2 separate regions of the Homo sapiens genome follow, and region 2 is linked to region 1. Evidence: promoter capture Hi-C in 16 types of primary human blood cells and fetal thymus (Javierre and others, 2016). All regions are on one chromosome and are shown on one strand. The core of a region is centred on a gene start or on the middle of the fragment in contact, and the rest is flanking DNA. Distances in the headings are between cores, read along the strand shown.

Region 1 (6,782 bases), core at 845-3,344:
GCAGTTTATCTGAGCTGATTTATAGATGGCTTCATCAAGAGAAAGTAGGGAGAATGAGCAGATTTCTCAACCATTGTGTTAGCTCTGTGAATTCGTATCTTTAATTCTTCAGTTTCATTTCCTTGGTAATAAGCTCTGTCCTGCATATATTCATTTTTCTTCTTTCCTGCTTTTCTTTTTCAATATCTACACACTCTCTTCTCCTCGTCCCTCTACTTATTTGACTGAACTCTTTTCTCAATCTGAAATCTGTGTTTAGGCCATTCTGCATCAGGCCTGGGTGTTGTAAGGCACACAGTACTGTGGGTACTGGAATATCCACTTTGGTCTTGTGCCTTAGGTGGAAAAGAGAACAGTTGTCAGTTTGCAGGTGGAAATAAACGTGTGATCTTTTCCCCTTACTGTAGCCCAGAAGGAATCTTGTAAGTCACAGCATTGGCTGAGACGAGACCTCCATACTAGAATCCAAATCAAACATTGAACTGAAAATGACGGTTGGGGCTTCATGTTCACTACATAATGCTGAATCGCAGGGTTCCATCTTAATTTTCAAAAAACCCAAGAGTTATGAGAACATGTTGGTAGCGTGGTTGTAAATGGTTTCTAAACACCCTGGGGTGCATGCGAATAACTCAGATGTTAAATTGCTTTCTATCCCTTCTGCTATATCTTCAGCTTGTTATTTCTGATAATAGTCCAAGTAGAGACAGACAATAAACCTGACTTCCCTTCTTCCTACTAACACTTCATGCTGCAAGACAATATTGTGAGATCTTTATCTCTAATCACTCAGCTGAACAACTATTGAGTCTGATACTTGGACACACAAGTTGAAGGTTCCTACCTCCAACCTCCCATCCTAGGTACTGCCCTGCACCATCTAGAAAGTCTCCTTACCTCTCTACTCAGGACCATTTGTGGTATACAGAGTCACTAGTACTTCCCTGGATATCTCCTGTAAATGCTCACAGTCTTGTCAAATCACTTCTGTGGAACTCTCCTTTCTTGTCCTTGCCCTGCCCTGGGGACCCACCCTTTTTCTTCCACCCACTGGTGAGCTTAGTGGCACAGAAGGGGCATGGGAAAACCCCAGGGTGGAGGATCTTTCCACTCCTCCATCTACCCCAAAACTCATGTAGGTGGTGATATGCTCTGCCTGCTACCACTGGGGCAAGGGGTGTTGGAGGAGCATGAAGCCCCCAATATTATGTAGGTCACTGAGAAGGCAACACATCCATCTATCTATCTTTGAGATGTGAACCCTGAAATCTGGTCCTGATGGTGGCTATCCATCTATCTTGAGCCTCCCGGTGAATTTGACCTTACCTCACTCAAGTGTGTACATCCTCCCTCGTAGCTGACCTCAATATATCTTGCTGCAGTTTATCTCAACAAGTTTCTTCTACAGCTTCTGAAGAAAGAGGTCATACCCACAGAAAGCAAAGTTGATTTCAGCCAGGTACTCTCAATGGTTGGAGCTATGGACACTAGAGTAGGGCCTGAAATGAAACCGGGAAACTTCTTCCTTGAGAACTTTTCGATGTTATAATCAGATGGAAATTGCAGCAACAATGAGTTCAGCAAGACACAGAGAAGAACTTTGCAGGTGAGAAAGGTGAAAAAAAATTCCTAAAATGTTATTCAAGTCATCAAAGAGACCCAAGTTTTGAGAATCTAGAAAGATTACCTCTCTGATAATAAAGAGAAAACAAACAAACGAAAGCAAAAGGGCACCCAGCATCGTTCTCCTAGGCATAATGATGGATGCTTTTAAGGTTGAAGTAAGAGTGGTGGGAGATTTTCTCTTGATTTTCCCTTGACTTGACAGCCTGATTTTTCTCTGACATGTTTCCTTCTTTCTCCTAGCATCACCCTAAATCAGTACAGCCTTGAAACTGAGATAAAGGCTGTGCTTACCTGTCTGCTGGTAGAAAGCTGAGTTTGAGGCAAAGCAGTTGTCGAAGCTGGGCCGAGGCCTTCACAGGTGTGGGCACAGAGGTGAAGCAAGTGAGAAAGTATCATGTTGTAGATTATGCCTTTCTCCCTGAACTCATTCAACTGCTGTTGCCTGCTCAAAAGGGGAAGCGGAAATGAGAACACACCACACACACACACATCCACACATGTAGATGCAGTCCCCGCCTCCTGGCCCAGCCACATCCTTTGCTCCGGCTCAGGAGACTGAGCGAAGGACAAACCATCCGTAGACACGGTGCTCACAACTAGGAAGACCTTCCTGCCCCAGAGCTGCCTCTGTCTTTCCAGAAAAACAGGAGATCTTTTCCTATTAAGGCAAAGGTACAGTCCATTTAAAGAGGTGTGTGCAGGAGTCTTCCTACCATATAACTAGAATTCCACTGCTGCAGATAAATCCTTCTGTCCTCAGGAGAGCTGTCTGAAAATGGGAAAGCTCTCTCTCATAAATGATCTGGCGTTTATCTCAGAGAAGAAGTTTCCAGTCGTATCACACACTTGAGAGGGCTCTGAGCCAGTCGCTCTGTGTTGATAACTTTCATACTCTGGTAAATTCCCCCGAAGCTTGTTTTTGAATACTGACTACTTTTTTTTTCTGTTAGTTTCTTAACTTTGTTTTATGTTCAAACCACTTCAAAGTTTTTGTTTTTGTAGTAAATGACTGCTTTCCCCAACGTTTTCAAAGCTGAACTTTTAAAATCGGTTACACCCTGAAGATGTCTTCAGTTTATTGGTTTTCAGTTTGGAAAAGGCTTGTTGAACTCTAAAAGGTTTCTCCCAGGCCTCAATCACTTTCACCCACCGGGAGCATCCAGCACTGCTAACTATCCCTCCTCGCTTCTCCAGTATCTCTGAACACTCTTCTCCGTAGGATGCTGCTGCATTTTGGATATCTTCTTTCTGTCTCTCTCCTGATTCTACTGTTTCCTTCTTTAAATCATTTATTTATGAATGTATATCACAATATTTATTCTACAAGGCACTCCTCTAATGTGTTAATTGTGACTGATTTTCACATGTTCATTACCTTCTTTCTGATTTTTTGGCTATAGGTATAGTTAGATTTTTTTTTTACCATGTTTCTAAATTCCATTTCCAATCATCAATGGGACAACTCCATTGAGTATCCATAGTATAGCTATAATATGGTAGAAATAATCCTAAATAAAATTCTTGCTTGGCAAATTAAGTTCTCAAAACATTATTTTCTTCAAGTATAATGTGAGGAAAATAACAATTCTCTCTGTTTCTCACTCAACCCTTCTCCCACGCTATTCCTTTTACGTAGGCATGAAAATATCTAACATATTTTCTCAGGACATAGTAGATGCTAAATATGTGCTTCTCTGAGAATTAGCTTCACAGTCAACAAGTAAAATGCTAAATCCAACACGCCCTAATTCTCTTTATTTACTATTCTTTTCCGTACAAATTAACTATAAAAGCTGAACTAATGGAAACTTAACAACTCTTTTAAATCCTAAGTTTCTAGAATTCAATGTTTTCCTTAACAGTTGTTTTCCAATATGTTTGGGAAATGGAGAATATAACTTCGGTAGGGAGTTTGGAAATATGTGAGAGAGATTTAATTTTCAAAGAAATGGGAAGCTGATACTGGTATTTAGTACCTGAGGGCCAATGATGATAAGTGCTTTTGAAGGGATGGGACTCTTCAGTATAAGGAATAATTGTCCTGGCCCAAATGTCAACATTTTGTTAACATTGATAGTTTGATGGTTAGGAGAGCAGGCTTTAGAGTGAAGCTCTGGCATCAAGTAGCTCTGTAGTCTTGGATACGTTAACATCTCTAGGTCTCAGTTTGTTAGCTGCTAAATGGGGATAACCTTACAGGAGTGGTTGTAGAGCTATAAGAATAAAGGAATACAGAGTATTCAGTCCAGCGCCTACCTTACAGCAAATGCTCAAGAAATTGCAGCTATTTTTAAGACTCTTGAAATATAATAGTTTCTTTTAACTTTTATTTTAAGTTCAGTGGTACATGTGCAAGTTTGTTACATAGGTAAACTCCTGTCATAGGGGTTTGTTGTACAGATTATTTCATCACCCAGGTATTAAGCCTAGTACCCAATAGGTATTTGTTTTGATCCTCTCCCTCCTTCCACCCTCTACCCTCCCATAGGCCCCAGTGTGTGTTGTTTCCCTCTATGTGTCCATGTGTTCTCATCATTTAGCTCCCACTTATAGGTGAGAACATGCGGTATTTGGTTTTCTGTTCCTGTGTTAGTTTGCTAAGGATAATGGCCTCCAGCTCCATCCATGTTGCTGCAAAGGACATGATCTCATTCTTTTTTATGGCTGCATAGTATTCCATGGTGTATATGTGCCACATTTTCTTTATCCAGTCTATCATCACTGGGCATTTGGGTTGATTCCATGTCTTTGCTATTGTGAATAGTGTTGCAGCAAACATACATGTGCTCGTGTCTTTATAACAGAATGATTTATATTCCTCCAGGTATATACTCGGTAATGGGATTGCTGAGTCTAAAGATATTTCTGTTTTTAGGTCTTTGAGCAATCGCCACATTGTCTTCCACAAGGGTTGAACTAATTTACACTCCCGCCAACAGTGTATAAACATTCCTTTTCCTCTGCCACCTCGCCAACATCTTTTATTTTTTGACTTTTTAATAATAGCCATTCTGAGTAGTGTGAGATGGTATCTCATTGTGGTTTTGATTTGCATGAAATATAATATTTTCAGTTTCTGCAGAATACTATGTCTATCTGTCAAAATTACCTCACTCATTAAAGATACCATTTCACAAGCAATTGCTAGAGATTTTTTTGTTAATAAAAAAGATGTATTAATTTTTGGTTTTTATTTATATTTATTCTTAATTTTTATGAGTACATATGTAGGTTTATATGTTTATAGTATTTGTGATTTATTTTTTGAAAGAAATATTTTTCTCTTCTACAAGCAGCTTCTGAAAGACAAAGATGAAGACTATATGATTCCTAGGAGGAGGAGGCGGCCCAGGGTATTCCTCTGTTTATCTTCTTTCTCAGTTGTATAGTCTTTCTCTTTCTTTCTTTGTTTCTTTCCTTCTTTCCCTTCCTTCCTTCCATTCCTTTTCCTTCCTTCCTTCCTTCCTTCCTTCTTTCCTTCCTTCCCTCCTTTCCTCCTTCCCCTTTCTCTTTTTTCCCTCTCACCTGCCCTTCCCACCCTTTGAAAACATTGTCTCTATATCTTTGGCACCATGAACTTCTCTGAGCATATATTCCAGGTGCTTCATGAAAACAAAATGACTTGTTCTTTTTATACGAGACGCAGTAGTTCAGGGTTTCTGAAGGTTTTTTTGTGAGCTTGTTCATTTTTTTTCCCTTGGTTAAAAATAAAAACCCTTATGCTAACTGAGATAATGAATTAGCTCTCTACTGCCTATGTGATTCAGCAGTTTGGTGCCTCATGATAGGGCCTATTTGTCATTCCATGGCTCCCTCTCTTGTGTTTTATAGAATTTAGTAAAAACCCTGAACTAGGGGTAAAAGAGCAATCTGAGTTTAAAACTATACTAGTTACTTAATTTCACTGGATATCGGTATCACCTTCTGACAGAGAAATATTTTCTAAGATCCTCTTGGCTTTAGATGTCAGTAACACCTGTACAGACTATTTTTCTCTACCCTTTTATAACTGCATGTAGTTTATTATGGAAAATGAAAATATTAAGTGATATTTGGTAAGAAATTATTATAAAGGTATTAGAAAAAGTATTTTGAAAGACTCTTTTCCATTGAAAAGCCAAGTAAATATTGCTTTTGAATAATATTATCCTCTAGACATGTAACCTGATAACACTGATAAATAAGAACAATTTCTGAACACTGATGAGCCCATCAAACAGATGGGCTGTAGTGAGTATAAGTTCTGGAGCTGCAGAACTACAGGCTGAGCTGGCAGGTTGCCCAGACCTGGGGCAGAGCCAGGACAGCTGTCCATAGAGGCTGTCCCAAGACAGAGAAGCTGCTGCTCAGAGCCACTGCTCTGGGCCGAGCAGCTGGGCCCCTCTGCCCAGGCCCAGATGCAAATCATCTGCCTCCATTTCAGCTCTCAACCTTCTTCTTTCTCAGATCCTGGGGTTTGCAAATGCCATTTTTGTTTTGTTTTGTTTGGCTGTTTTGTTTTTTTTGCTAAGAGTCTGTTCCTCCAAATTGCTGATGTGGGAATTTGAGTGACTTTGTCTCCTTCCTGTACCAAAGGCTCAAAAGTAGAAAGAGAGAGTGGATAGAATTGTAGGGGAGAGAGCAGTGATTTAACTCACCAAGGATTTTCTGAACTTTCTCCAGGCAGAAAAGTGTCCACCAAGGTCATCTTGTTCTTTTCTCTGCTTCTATGTTCTGGTTGTTAAGGATACAAACAAATGGGATTCTCTAACTTTTCTAACCTACCCATTCTACTAAATTACTCCACTCAATGCCAGAAAGTTCTTCCTTCTGTCTGGCTGTATCTTCCCTCTGTAAGAGTCCAGCAAAACAGAAGAGCAATCCATCTCAGGCCTCTGCAGAGGGTGTTCTTTCAGTGATCTGGATTGTAATTCTACCCAAAATGTATTTTATTGGATACCTTCTGAGTGTCAGAAATGAGATAGATCTGGGGAAGGGACTGAGGGGAGTATAGAAGGAGAGGAAGATATACAAGGGGGAGAAACAGTATCAAATACTGTCCCTTAGAGGGCTTATTTTCTAGTATGATCAAGTAATTTGGGGAAATACAGGGTTAACAAAAGACAAACATGTTCCTTTAAGGCAGTGGTCCCCAACCTTTTGGCATCAAGGACTGG
Region 2 (7,048 bases), core at 1,698-4,197, 320 kb before region 1:
AAAGAATATGTTTATTTAAAATATTGATAGATATTTGACACTGTCTTCTTTTTTTTTAAATTTTATTATTATTATACTTTAAGTTTTAGGGTACATGTGCACAACGTGCAGGTTTGTTACATATGTATACATGTGCCATGTTGGTGTGCTGCACCCATTAACTCGTCATTTAGCATTAGGTATACCTCCTAATGCTATCCCTCCCGCCTCACCCTACCCCACAACAGTCCCCGGTGTGTGTTGTTCCCCTTCCTGTGTCCATATGTTCTCATTGTTCAATTCCCACCTATGAGTGAGAACATGTTTGGTTTTTTGTCCTTGCGATAGTTTGCTGAGAATGATGGTTTCCAGTTTCATCCATGTCCCTACAAAGGACATGAACTCATCATTTTTTATGGCTGCGTAGTATTCCATGGTGTATATGTGCCACATTTTCTTAATCCAGTCTATTGTTGTTGGACATTTAGGTTGGTTCCAAGTCTTTGCTGTCGTGAATAGTGCCGCTATAAACATACGTGTGCATGTGTCTTTATAGCAGCATGATTTATAATCCTTTGGGTATATACCCAGTAATGGGATGGCTGGGTCAAATGGTATTTCTAGTTCTAGATCCCCAAAGCAATGGCAACAAAAGCCAAAATTGACAAATGGGATCTAATTAAACTAAAGAGCTTCTGCACAGCAAAAGAAACTACCATCAGAGTGAACAGGCAACCTACAGAATGGGAGAAAATTTTTGCAACCTACTCATCTGACAAAGGGGTAATATCCAGGATCTACAATGAACTCAAACAAATTTACAAGAAAAAAACAAACAACCCCATCAAAAAGTGGTCGAAGGATATGAACAGACACTTCTCAAAAGAAGACATTTATGCAGCCAAAAAACACATGAAAAAATGCTCATCATCACTGGCCATCAGAGAAATGCAAATCAAAACCACAATGAGATACCATCTCACACCAGTTAGAATGGCAGTCATTAAAAAGTCAGGCAACAACAGACACTGTCTTCCTTGAAGTTGTTCCAGTTATATCTTAACCAATAGTGTGTGAAAGTGCCTGTTTCCCATATGCTGATCACCACTAGATACTGTCAATATTTTAAATTTTGGACAACTTGTTGGGCAAAAGATAATATTTTGTGGTTAATACTTTAATTTGCATTTCTCTGCTTACCGGTGATTTTGACAGGATTAGTAGTCTTTTGTATTTTCTCTCCTGTGAATCATTTATGTCCTTTGGCTTTTTTTGCTATTTAGAAAAAACTTTCTCTCTCTGACGTAGCTCCTTAAGTACTTTGATTGCTAACCTTTTGTTTGTTGCATATTGTTAGAAGAGGGAACAGCTTTCCTTCATTCCAAATGTTCCCATGTTGAGGAAACTTGAGGCACAACAGTTGAGGTCTCTCTTTACCTCTAGTTAAGAGTGACTTAAAATAATTGTGGAGTTTGGAAGAAAAGACGAGGCAGATGTGGCCAGCAGAGAGCCTTATTCTCTTCCTTCCTTTGGGACCCAGGCTGTCTGGGGGAGCACGTGTTCTGCTGTTTGCCTCCATGCTAGGAGCCTCCCGTGGGAGGAGGCCTATGGTGGCCCAGAACTATCTTTTGGTAACTGTGTTTAAAAGAAAGTTTCACTTCTATAGATATGACCCTCAATAAATATTTGGTGAATAAATGAACAGTGATCATTTTTCTAATTAAAAAGCTAAAAGAGAAACAAAGCTTCTGGAATCAGATGATGGAGAAACTTAAGCAAAAGAAAAGCAGGAGAGAACTACTGCAGAGATGAGACCTGCTCTTCCCCAAGGAACCCTGGAGAAAGTTGAAGCCAGGGATCAATAAGGCCAAGGTGAAACTGGCCCAGGGGATAATAATCATAAAGGTAAATAAGCAAATGACTTTTCCTGGAACAGCCATTTCTGTTCCATTCCATTCTGTCATTTGCTTATTTGCCAGTCTCCAGTCATTTGCCAGTCTCCCTCCCTCCCCTTTTTGTGTTTACAGAGTGACTGGTTGAAGGATGTGCCCTGGAGTGAGCAAATGGAGGAAGGAGTCGAGCAGGACCTGAGGTAACTCTGGGCCTTCAGATGGTCACAGAGGAAGAAAGGAAAAGAAAGGAGGAATGTTCTTTACAACGGGACACCGGATTGCCTATTGGCTCCACTTCCATACATTCACCATCCACCATCCAACCTTATTGGGAAACCTTTCTGTCAGCATCCTCATCGTATTCACCCCTTGCACCTTCCATGAGAGAAGATGAGAGAAAAAGGGAGAGAAAGAGAGAAAGAGAGAGACTCATCATGGAAACAGACATATAGAAACCTATGCCAGATGCCTATAGCATTGCAAAGTGCCAAGAGAGGAAGAACCAAAGGTACTGCATTTAAAACAAAGAATTACTAAATATTGAAGGAAAATGAATGATATTGAAAAAGAAGAACCTCCCTTGTAGCCTAGTGGTTAGGAAAAATAAAAATAAAAAAAGAAAAAGAAAAGAAGAACCAAGATGAATAAACACAATAACTGATCAACAATGAAACAAAACTTTTCATTTCAGATAAAATGCTAATTGCTTAAAAAAATTAAGTGGATATTAAATCAATAAAGCTAAGGTAGAGTTCCATGAAGAAAAGCCAATCACTAAAGAAGAAAGACTTATGATTTTAAAAGATGATTATAAGAAGAAAGCAATTAATAGAAGGGCTGAGTAACTGAAAGTATGTGGTCGCAGAATAAATTAGTGATTTAGAAATTAAGGTGTTTTTTTTTTTGTAATGTGAAGGCAGAAAGACAATAGAAATTATGGGACTGACATTAAAAGATATGGAGGATATGCCCAGGGGACCAAATACTCACTTAAGAGAAGTAAAAGAGAATAAAACAGATGGGAGAGACAGGGTCGAAGAAATAATAGAAGAAGTTTCCCTGATAGCAAGATATCCTCCAGACTTTAGATCTAAAGCATACACTAAGTGCTAGGTAGGACTACTGAAAGGCACCCACACCTAAATTCATGCGGGTGAAATTTCTGGATTTCAGAGGTTTAAAAAGGCTTACTAATTTTCAGAGAAAAAAGGTAACTTGCAAAGGAACGCAAATAAGATTAGCACCAGGCTTCTGGTCTGCTCCAGAAAATTAATGGACAATGGATCAGGGCCTGCCAAGTTAGAGCTAGAGTTACATAGCCAGTCAAATATGAGGCCAAAATAAAGAACTATGAAAATATATCACTCATGCTCCTTTTTGGAAAATCTAGTCTACAGACAATACAATTTCAAGGAAGGCGAATAGGATATACAAGAAAGAGTGGTAAACAGAGAAACTAACAGAATATATAGTTAAGTCTAACAAATTCTTGTTATTATCATTGTGTTTAATACCATTGCTAAGAAATCCTAAAATAGAAATACATCTATTATATAATAAAATAATTATATTATTTGTATAATTATATATATGATTATAAATAAAATAATATATAAAATAATACAGTTATATGTTATATTAATAACAAAAATTAACCATATCTGAAATAAAATTATAGATACTGTTAAAGTCTTACAAGATAGGGAAAGAGGGATAAATTATACATGATACAGGTCTCATTTTCTGAGGAAGGTAAAGTCTGGTTATTAGTTGCTGATACTGATACAAGCATTGATTTAAATAGGTTTGTTAGAAACTTAAAAATAATATAGAATGGGTATGGTATGTAGATGGTGGTGGTGATGATACTGGCCTACTCAGTATCCATACTTGCTTTCTTTCTAAGTAATAGAATTCTAATTTTAGTTATCGGGGTAATGTGTCTAGTTAAAAGATAACATTCCTAGCCACATTTGCGGTTAGTAGTGGCCACTTGATTGAATGTAAATGGAAATACTGTGTGAAATATGAGCAAAGATTTCTTAAAAGGAGCTGACTCAGCAGACACGTGTTTTTGTGCCCATTTCCCTTCTTTCTTCCCGCTGTTTGGAAATTGGACAGGTTGGCTGGAGCCACCACAACTGCCATATGGCCTTGAGACTAGAAGTTGTGTCCTTAGGTCCTTGAGAATGATAGGGCAGAAAGAAAAGAGGTGGCTGGATTCCTGAGGACAGCGGGGCCTCCTACCAGGAGTCCTAGGCTGCCTTTCTCTAGTCTTCTTTTACTTAGGGGCTGGGGAGAAGCTTATGTCTTTACGCTGCTTATTTTGGAGTTTCTATTCCATGCAGCTGAACTGAATTCTAACTGATTTATAAATCTTTTAACGTGGCAGAGTAGAAAAGAGCAACAACAACAAAGAACTTGATCAATCCAGCAAAGATTCAGAAGGAAAGAAAGAACAAGAAAAGAATAAATAAATGGCAGGGTTAGAAGGTGAACTGCAGTCATAGATTTCTTTTATAATAGACACACCAGAAATAAAGTGACACACAAATGTTGAATATAAAGAGATGGAGAGAGAAATGTTAGGTAAATGGAATAGCAACATTATCTGGCAAAATAGAACGCAAGGCCAAAATAATTAAAGAGAACATGAAGTGCTGTTTTAAATCGCATAGGTTTAAAAAAGGTAAAATTCACTGAGAAGATGTAATAGTTACAAACTTTTATGCATCACACTTGCATTGAAACAAAGCAAAAACTGTGATGACTATGAGGACTACCTGACAGAGCCACACTCTCTGTAGGAGACATCGATCTGTTAAGTCTCGGAAGGTGACAGTTTATGTGGACAGAATATAATTTTGTATACAGAACATTTGAATAACACAATTGACAAACTTGCTTGAATGTTATAGCCAATGAAAAGAATAAACATTTTTTCAATACCTGTGTGGTTTTACAAAATCGATTAAATACTAGGTATCAAAGAATACCTCAATCCATTCTCCAAAGAAGAAATTGTAAAGGCCACTTTTTCTTACCACCATATAATACAAGTTAGAAATTAAAAATGAAAGGCAAATCATAATAATTAAAAAAAGAGTCCCTGGGGAAAAACAACAATCTTTCTTAGGTTAAAAGGAAAACAGTTGTGGGGTGGGGGGAGGGGAAAGGGATAGCATTAGGAGATATACCTAATGCTAAATGACGAGTTAATGGGTGCAGCACACCAGCATGGCACATGTATACATACGTAACTAACCTGCACATTGTGCACATGTACCCTGAAACTTAAAGTATAATAATAATAATAAAAAAAAGAAAACAGAGCCTTAAGTGATGATTGTTTTGGAAATGGATATGTGAACGCTGCGCACCTTTACTTTGCAGCCAACTGTTCTTAGAGGATCCCTGGTGTTTAGTATTTTATGAGAAATGAACATGTAGCAAAAGTAAATTCAAGTTTAGAAACTAGAAAATGTCTAATCAAACAATGTGAAAAATAGAAGAGGGCATTAATAGATGTAAAAGCAGAAATTAACTAAATTAAATTATGCAATCCCAATAGGAAAACATGGTTCTCCCTGAGTCTCTTCTGAAGTGCAGTCCACTCATTCCCACAGCCATGCTTCTTAGGTTGGGCAGTGGAATTCACAGACATGTGGATCATCCTAGACTCCACTGCAGAGTCCATTGAGTCATATCACTAATACCTCCTCCTCGGAGGAGTCTTGGGTCATCTGTCTACCCCTCCTCATTGTTTCACCTGCTGGGCTCCCAGCGACTCCTTTCCTTCATGGAAGACTTACTCCTGAGTGGTGGTCTTCTTTTTTGTTTTAAGCTGCTGGACAACTTCATGGATCATGACCATGACTTACCCAGAAGTCTGGGTTCTAGGGAACCATGGAAGTTCGGGTGAAAGTAGAAATTGACCTTATCATAACTTTCACCCCAACTCCCATGGTCAATCTGTGGCCGTGGTCATTTCTTAGAGTTACTCCAATTCTGAAAACACCCACATCCTCACCACATATCACCTATCCTTCCAACTCTTTCATTCTGATACTTCTTCTATATTTATTTTTCAAACTTCAGTTCCCTGACCATTTTATTTTCTCTTTTTCTGTATGCCTACTCCAGTCTTCACGTTCTTTCCTTTCCAGGTTAAATTACATGGTCTTCCACTTAGAGAAGTTTTTTGCCAATCTGTGTCACTTCCTGACCTCATTTTTACAAAGTTTGGCAAATTCTGAGTCTTGATAAATCTAGCTCTCTACTCTCTCTGTCCTATTCCAGGGCTATTGAGCACTTGTAGGAAAAAAAGGATATAAAACCATAAAGATTATACATTATAAACTTCTGGTTTGTAACCTCAACTAGGATCCCACTACATCCTTCACACACACCTAGTGACTTCATCAGCTTCACAGAGAAAATACAAGTGTTTTGGTACAAATTCCCTTTATTTCCTACCAATATATTTGTAACCTTACATGTACTTGTGTCCACCTTTTCTTTCTTTTTTACAGTAACTATGTGAGAGTTTTTCTTTCTCTTGCCTAAAACTTAACCCTTCATCTAAGATCTGACTCCTGTCTCCTCCTGCCTTCTCAGGAATATTGCTCTGTTGATTATCGCTACTCTTCCTTGCACTTTAATTTCTCCTGGACCTTTAAAAAATATCAGTTAAACAAGGCTTTTGAGGTCTTTCATGATCTGGCCTCTTCCTACCATCTCTTCCACATTTCACCTCTTAGTTTATGTCCTAGCTATGCATTTTTCTTTGAGTTCCTTGAGCACACGTTGTTTGCACTTATCTCTGGGATTTTGCACCTGCTGATCCTTCTTTCTGAAACATTATCTTCCCTTTCTCCTCCAATACTCATATTTGAGTAATTTTTCATTTTATATCACTTTCTCTGGGAATCTTCTATCCTGAAAGTTTTGATTAGGCTTAGTTCTAATAGCTTCATTGCACCCTCTAATAGACTATTGTAGAACTTATTATTCTAAGATGTACTAAGAAATTTATTTTTCTGACCTTTCTCACTCTTGTTTCCTCCAACAAGACCAAGATTGTCTTGTTCAGTGTTGATTTCCTAGCATCTGGAACATGTCCGGCATAAGAAGCATTAAATATGTTTTTTTGTTGGATTGATTAAAATCTTTGTCTG

The links. Contacts are between HindIII fragments. The CHiCAGO score rates a contact against its expected background, and 5 or more counts as called.
Region 2: a fragment that was not itself captured here is called in contact with the fragment with the promoter of TESPA1 in region 1 in 1 of 17 cell types (M0 macrophages); the score reaches 5.4 in M0 macrophages.

Annotation. Positions count from the first base shown.
Region 1 is chr12:54,982,668-54,989,449 of GRCh38, forward strand. TESPA1 (thymocyte expressed, positive selection associated 1) reads right to left here and starts at 2,095. Exons shown (of 11, transcript NM_001136030.3): 1 at 1,918-2,095. LOC107984515 (a long non-coding RNA gene) reads left to right here and starts at 2,184. Exons shown (of 2, transcript XR_001749161.2): 1 at 2,184-2,298. The HindIII fragment of the contact is 6,023 bases long and covers 1-2,536 here.
Region 2 is chr12:54,664,217-54,671,264 of GRCh38, forward strand. No RefSeq gene overlaps it. Among named protein-coding and RNA genes, the nearest start is that of DCD, 19 kb to the left of the region's middle. The HindIII fragment of the contact is 2,450 bases long and covers 1,723-4,172 here.